Linked DNA regions of Homo sapiens: region 1 is linked to region 2. Evidence: promoter capture Hi-C in 16 types of primary human blood cells and fetal thymus (Javierre and others, 2016). All regions are on one chromosome and are shown on one strand. The core of a region is centred on a gene start or on the middle of the fragment in contact, and the rest is flanking DNA. Distances in the headings are between cores, read along the strand shown. Region 1 overlaps OPA3 (outer mitochondrial membrane lipid metabolism regulator OPA3). Region 2 holds the start of VASP (vasodilator stimulated phosphoprotein).

Region 1 (3,235 bases), core at 232-2,731, 50 kb before region 2:
CATGGCCACTGCATTGCAGAGCGGAGATCATGCCACTGCACTCCAGCCTTGGGGACAAAGCGAGACTCCGTCTAAAAAAAATAAAAAAAAAAAACAGCAGAACATAGAATAATAAAAACTGCATACAAATCCCCTGTAGAAATGGGGGAGCGGAGAAAGGGCAGGCCGCATGGGGGCAGAGTGCTCACCTTTCATAGTGGGGCTGGATTATGAGTAGGTAACGATGGCGTAGATCTGAACAAACCTCCAGTTGAAGAGCTCAGAAATGAGTGAGGTATGCTTACTATGGGCTGTCCAGGAGATGGCGCTAGGGGAAAACAGGCTGGCGACCGCAGTAGTTGAGGGTTCCTCTGAGGAGGGGACTTTGGCTTTACATTTTATAGTTTGAGTACTTTGTTTTCTTGCCATGTGTTACTTTTATTTGCGGCAGGAGTTGGGGGTGGGGCGACGGGGAATGGTAGGTTTGTTCTTTTCTTTTCTTTTTTTGAGACAGTCTTGCTCTTGTTGCCCAGGCTGGAGTGCAGTGGCGTGGTCTTGGCTCACGGCAACCTCCACCTCCTGGGTTCAAGCGATTCTCCTGTCTCAGCCTCCCGAGTAGGTGGGATTACAGGGGCCTCCCACCACGCCCCGCTAATTTTTTGTATTTTTACTGGAGATGGGTTTCACCATGTTGGCCAGGCTGGTCTTGAACTCCTTACCTCATGATCTGCCTGTCTCAGCCTCCCAAAGCGCTGGGATTAAAGGCCTGAGCTACCGCGCCCAGCCAGTTTGTTCTTTTCTTCTCACCAATTCCTTCTGATTGCTGCGTGGGGGACAATTGCAGAGGGGTGAGGCTGGGGCCGGCAGGTGGGAAGGAGGCTGGAGGCGGGACTCACTTATGTGTTAAGCTTAGATCTAATGAGCATCATGCGTGTGCCTGGCCTGGCACTGGGCAGTGCTGGGGACACAGCAGTGACTGTGACAGCCCTGGGCCCCACCCTTGTGAGGCTTACAGGACAGTGGGGAGACTGATTGCAGACAGGTAACTGGATAGCCACTATTCCTGGTTGTGATAGGCACTCAGAAGGGGATAGACAGGCTGTATTCCTCCTATTCAGGAGGTCAGGGAGGAGAACGTTGGTCAGAGCTGGGATGGATCCTGGACCAGGACAGCAGAAGGGAATCCACTGGGAGAGATGTTCAAGATGCAGAATGGACCCGACACGCAGCTGAGAGGCTGTGGGAGAAGGGGAACAGCTGGGCTGAGGCCCCCGTCTCTAGCCAGGGGACAGGTGTGGGGCCAGGTGCTGGGTTCAGGTTTGGATGTGCTGAGTGTGAGAGGTCTAGGAGACATCTGGAGCGTGTTGACCCCCGCAAGTCTGGTGAGTCCTCCAGCTTAGCCTGTCCCGGCCCCTCACAGCTGTCCCTTCTAGAATCACAGCCCTGTGATTCATCCCCACCTGGGCCTTGTTTCCTGAACCCCACATCTGACCGCTGGCCCGAGGGAGAATGCCGTCGGCCCCTGCTCTGAAAGCCCTGAAAGCCCATGCCTGCGTGCACACACGCGTGCACACACACACACACCCTCTTGATTTGATTTCCTGTGGCCTGGGTATGTGCCCACTCCCATTGGCACACCTAGACCCACCTGCTGGCCCAGATCCCCATGCTTGGTCTGCACTGAGACACTTGCATTTCCACGCTGGGAACCTCACCCAGGAAGGCTAGAGGATCTGGAACCCTCACCCCTCACCACTCTCTGGCCACTGTGCTAGGTGTCCCTGACATGAAGGAGGCAGTGACAGTTACGGGCCCAGCTCTGGGCCACCACCAGGTCTGGCGAGTGTCATTGTCAGGATGATGCTGTCCTTCCTGTGTTACAGAGGGGCCTTGGGGCAGGCTGTCATTGCTCAGGCAGCAGGTGGCGGAGCCCCGGGGGGACCCCAGATCAGCCTGACCCTAAGACCTCAGTGTGGGAGGGGTCTCCACAGCCTGGACCCCAGGAACCCACAAGCCCAGGGCCTAAGTCACAGCTGTAACAGTAACTGCAGCAGCTGACAGTGACAGTGACAGTGACTTCTCGGGCCCTAAGCTTGCACCTCAGGTCTTCCCTCCAGCTCCAGCAGAGCTCCCCAAGCCTTCCTGCCACCCCACCCCTTTGAAGATGAAAAATGTGTAGTGGCTGGGCTCAGTGGCTGTCTCCTGTCGTCCCAGTACTTTGGGAGGCTGAGGCAGGATGATTGCTTGAGCCCAGGAGTTCAAGACCTGCTTTGGCAACATAGCAAGACCCAGTCTCTACCAAAAAACAATTTAAAAACAGCCAGGCATGGTGGGGCATCTATAGTTCTAGCGGCTCCAGAGGCTGAGGCAGGAGAATTGCTTGAGTCTAGGTGTTCGAGGTTGCAGTGAACTGTGATGGAGCCGCTGCCTTCCATCCTGGACCACAGAGTGAGAGCCCATCTGTTAAATAAATAAATAAATAAGATGGAATATGGCAAGACCCCATCTCTACCCAAAAAAAATAAAATTAGCCAGGCATGGTGGCATGCACCTGTTGTCCTAGCTACTCAGGAGGCTGAGGTGGGAAGATGACTCGAGCCTGGGAGGCAGAGGTTGCAGTGAGCTGAGATTGTTCCACAGCACTCCAGCCTGGGCAACAGAACGAGATCCTGTCTCAGAAAAAGAAAAAATAAATTGTGTGCCCTCTAGTGCATTTTCAAGTTGACAAGTAAAACTTTTCTTCATTAACCTTAAGTAGTTGTGAAGGATGGAATTTCTGGTTCTGGTGTGTTATGATACTGACATGTTCAAACAGCTGGTGCATCCTTCCCTTCATATTTATTGCAGTTCGCATACAATAATGATTTGATGCCTACCAATGTCTGGTTTAAAGATATATATATATAGGCCAGGCATAGTGGCTCACGATTGCAATCCCAGCACTTTGGGAGGCCGAGGCAGCCAGATCACTTGAGCCCAGGAGTTCAAGACCAGCCTAGGCAACATACTGATAAACCCCATCTCTATTTTAAAAAAAATACAAAAATGACTAGGCACGGTGGCTCACGCCTGTAATCCCAACACTTTGGGAGGCCGAGGTGGGTGGATCACGAGGTCAGGAGATCGAGACCATCCTGGCTAACACGGTGAAACCCCATCTCTACTAAAAATATAAAAAAATTAGCTGGGCGTGGTAGCGGGCGCCTGTAGTCCCAGCTACTCAGGAGGCTGAGGCAGGACAATGGTGTGAACCCGG
Region 2 (3,049 bases), core at 494-2,993:
CCTTGCTCCAAATTTTCCAGCCATGCCTTTCACATCAGAAGGAACAAACGCGGGAGGGGGATTCTCTAGTGGTCATAAAAAGGAATGCCACGCCACTCCGATGTCAAAGGGCAGGGGTTCAGGAAATGCGGGGGATGTGGGCACCACGGGGTTAATCCCCAACCGTCCCCAGGGGCCTCCCTGCTCAGGCTGGGGGCTTTGGGGCAGGAAGTCCCAGAGAGAGTAGAGGAAGGGAGATAGTATTGTCAGGCTCTGGCCCCATGGGAGAGATTATGGGGGGCCAGGGGAGGGAAGAATAGGGGGGATGGTTGGGCCCCCCTGCCCACACTGGCCCCGCCCTCAGGTGAGCCCAGGAGTTCGGGGGAGGCCCCGGCCAGACCAAATCCCTGGGTCCCTTGGGCCGCCACCCCCAGGATTAAATTCCTGGGAAGATAGCTGGAATTATCTGGGAAGCCTGGGTCCCTAGGGAAGAGGGCTATGACCTTGAAGCTTTCCAGCTCCCCCTCCTCCAACCCCAAGGCTCCGGGTGGATAGGGGGACGGTGAGCAAAGGGGGAGGGGCCGTGGTGGGGAAGGCAGCCGGCCTACAGCGCTTGGTGCCCGCCCCCCACACCAGCTGTCTCGACAGGTGAGTCAGGAAGACAAAGGCCCCCTTCCCCCAGCTGCCGCGCCCCCTCCCTCTCCAGGGCCGCGCAGGTGGGGGAGCCGGGCCGCCCTTATGGCCGGAGGCGGGGAGCCGCCCTCTGCTCCGAGCGCCCGCTCGGTCCTAGGCACGGCCAGTTAAGCAGATTGTGTGCGGAGCGACGGGGAAGGGGGGGGTCCCACCAGACTCTGGAGGCTGCGTCCAGGTCCCTGGATCGGTTCACACCAGCCTCCTCCACAGGAAGACCTAAGTGACCCCCAAAATCCAGGGGATTAAGAAGTACCCCCGAAGTTATGGAGCGCGGTCCCACTTGGGGAGACTTTTTCCAGCACCAAGTAAACGGGGGACCTGCACACCCAGGGTCTGAGTCTCAGTCTCTCTTCCAAGTCCCAGGGTATCCCAAATCGGTCCCCCACAATCCTTCCCGGACCTCGAGCTGAAGTCTGGGGGGAGGGGGAGGAGAGTCTGAGCCCTGCCTCAATCCTGGCATCCCTGCGGGGAGTCGCTGCCAACTTTGAGGTCCTCTAAAAAAAGTCTTAACAATTCGGGAGTCCTCCGAGCGCCCCCAAATCTTGAGGGCTCCCAGGAGAACCTCACCGCCACCACCCCCCGAGCTTGGGGAGTCAGTCGTGGAGAAGTGATCGACGGTTCTGGGGCGCGTCCAAGGGGATTCAGCTCAAATCCGAGGCTCCCAAGGATCTGTCCCCAAATTCCAGCCCGGAGCTAGCTGGGGGGGAGGGGGACAAAGGCGGGGCGCGGAGCCCGCCCGGGCGGGGACGGGTCGGGGGGCAGGTCCGGCTCACCTCATGGCTGCTCGGCGGGCGGGCGGCTCGCCCACGGGCTGGCTGCTCCCGGGGCGCCCCTGGCTGGAGGTTCAGGGGTTCGGGGCTGGCTCCGGGCTCGGCTCAGGCTCCCCCAGGGTCCCGCCCCATAGAGTCCGGCTTCCTGGGGAGAATGTGGACCGGGCCGGGGCGGGTCTCCGGGCGCCGCTTCCCTCAGGCGGTCTGATGAGAGGTTCCTGCAGCAGAAAGGGGATGCAGCGTCCGCTCCCCAGCGCGCACCCCTTGCCGGTGGCGGCTACAGTGTTACTCTTACTACTGTACTTCTCTTCGTTACATTTCGTTCCAAAATTCCACTCCCCGCACCCACAATGCCCCGCGCCTTAAAGGGGCCGCGTGCGCCTCCAGGCGAGGGGGTGGAGGGCGCTTAAAAGGGCAACTCTGCACCCTCGGCTTCCGCGATCTCGCTCCTCTCCCCAATGTTGTAGCCCAGGGGTGCACCCTGGGAATCACCCCCACCTGAGGGGCAAGTTGGTGAAGGGGAAGGGGACCTCCCTTGCTTCCTAGTTCGCTCCCACTGTGGGAATTCTGAGGAGGGTCTCGGAAGGGGCGCGATTTCTTTCCCCATCGACTTCTCCATCTCGTACTCCGCTCAATTTTGGGGGTCGAGGAGGACCCTCAAGTTAAGCAAGTGGTCTCAGATTTTCTCCCTGAAATCCCATCTTCGGAACACCGCCCCTCCCCAGCGTTTCTCTTCTGTCAATTTCGGAGAGGTTACTAAGGGGGCGAGACCCCCACCCGCACGGGAGTGGAAGTCGGGGGAGTAGGGCCCAACCCCTCTCACCCCACCCCGCCCGCCCCGGGAAGGTGAGGAGGAAGTGGGCCAAGGGGGCGCGGTCGGTCGCTGACTCACAGCCGCAGGGTCGGGGGTGGGGTGGGGTGGAGGTGGGGACTGGCGAGGAGTGCGGGAGTGGGGGGCCCGGCATTCGCCCGGGGTGGGCAGGAGGCGCCGGCTTCTTTGGTGTGTAAAGCCTCCGGCCCACGCACGCCCCGCTCTGACTCAGTTTCGCCTGCGGAGGACAGCAGGATCATCCCAGCCCTCAGGAGGGCCCGGAGGTGAGGAGACCCTCCCGGGAGCCCCCGCCCCCACACGCCGGCTCCGGGCTGAGCCCAGACACCCTCTGAGGCTTCCGCAGCGTGTCTTGCCGGCCCCGCCCCGAGTGACGTCACTGATTTGGTCGCGCCCCTTGGGTAGAGCGCCACCTGGCCCGGGTGAGGCGCCCGAGCCCTGGGAAATCAGTTAGTTCCACATTTACACACGGGTAAACTGAGGCCTGGAGACAGGGAATGAATCTGGCCTATGGCCCTCTTGCCTGAGCCCCCAGAACCCGGAAAGCCACCAAGGTCTGAGTGTAAAACCAACAATTCTCAGGGCCAGCTGACTATGTGAGAGAATCCACTTTTCCAGCGTATGTCCAAGCCGAGTCCCATGTCCGGATGTTGATGTTGTCCTGACCTCCTTTACCTGGGGAGCACGTCATCCTTCCAGGCCAAGCTTTGACATTAATTCCCCTCCCCTTCTCCACCCCACTCTGGGAGACCTTGAACCCTGTTCCTCGGAGGTTATC

Evidence for each region. The method cuts DNA at HindIII sites, captures the fragments that hold promoters and counts their contacts. A CHiCAGO score of 5 or more calls a contact.
Region 1: a fragment that was not itself captured here is called in contact with the fragment with the promoter of VASP in region 2 in 10 of 17 cell types (naive CD4 T cells, naive CD8 T cells, total CD8 T cells and 7 more); the score reaches 12.1 in naive CD4 T cells.

The regions. Positions count from the first base shown.
Region 1 is chr19:45,555,582-45,558,816 of GRCh38, reverse strand. All of the region lies in intron 1 of OPA3 (outer mitochondrial membrane lipid metabolism regulator OPA3), which reads left to right. Among named protein-coding and RNA genes, the nearest start is that of OPA3, 28 kb to the left of the region's middle. RefSeq lists an enhancer at 288-788. The HindIII fragment of the contact is 1,184 bases long and covers 890-2,073 here.
Region 2 is chr19:45,506,173-45,509,221 of GRCh38, reverse strand. It overlaps VASP (vasodilator stimulated phosphoprotein), which reads right to left and starts at 1,743. Exons shown (of 13, transcript NM_003370.4): 1 at 1,446-1,743. The coding sequence starts at 1,450. LOC107985314 (a long non-coding RNA gene) reads left to right here and starts at 1,848. Exons shown (of 2, transcript XR_007067269.1): 1 at 1,848-2,537. RefSeq lists silencers at 619-818, 1,413-1,592, 2,273-2,402, 2,433-2,682 and enhancers at 1,743-2,012, 1,294-2,078. The HindIII fragment of the contact is 2,487 bases long and covers 492-2,978 here.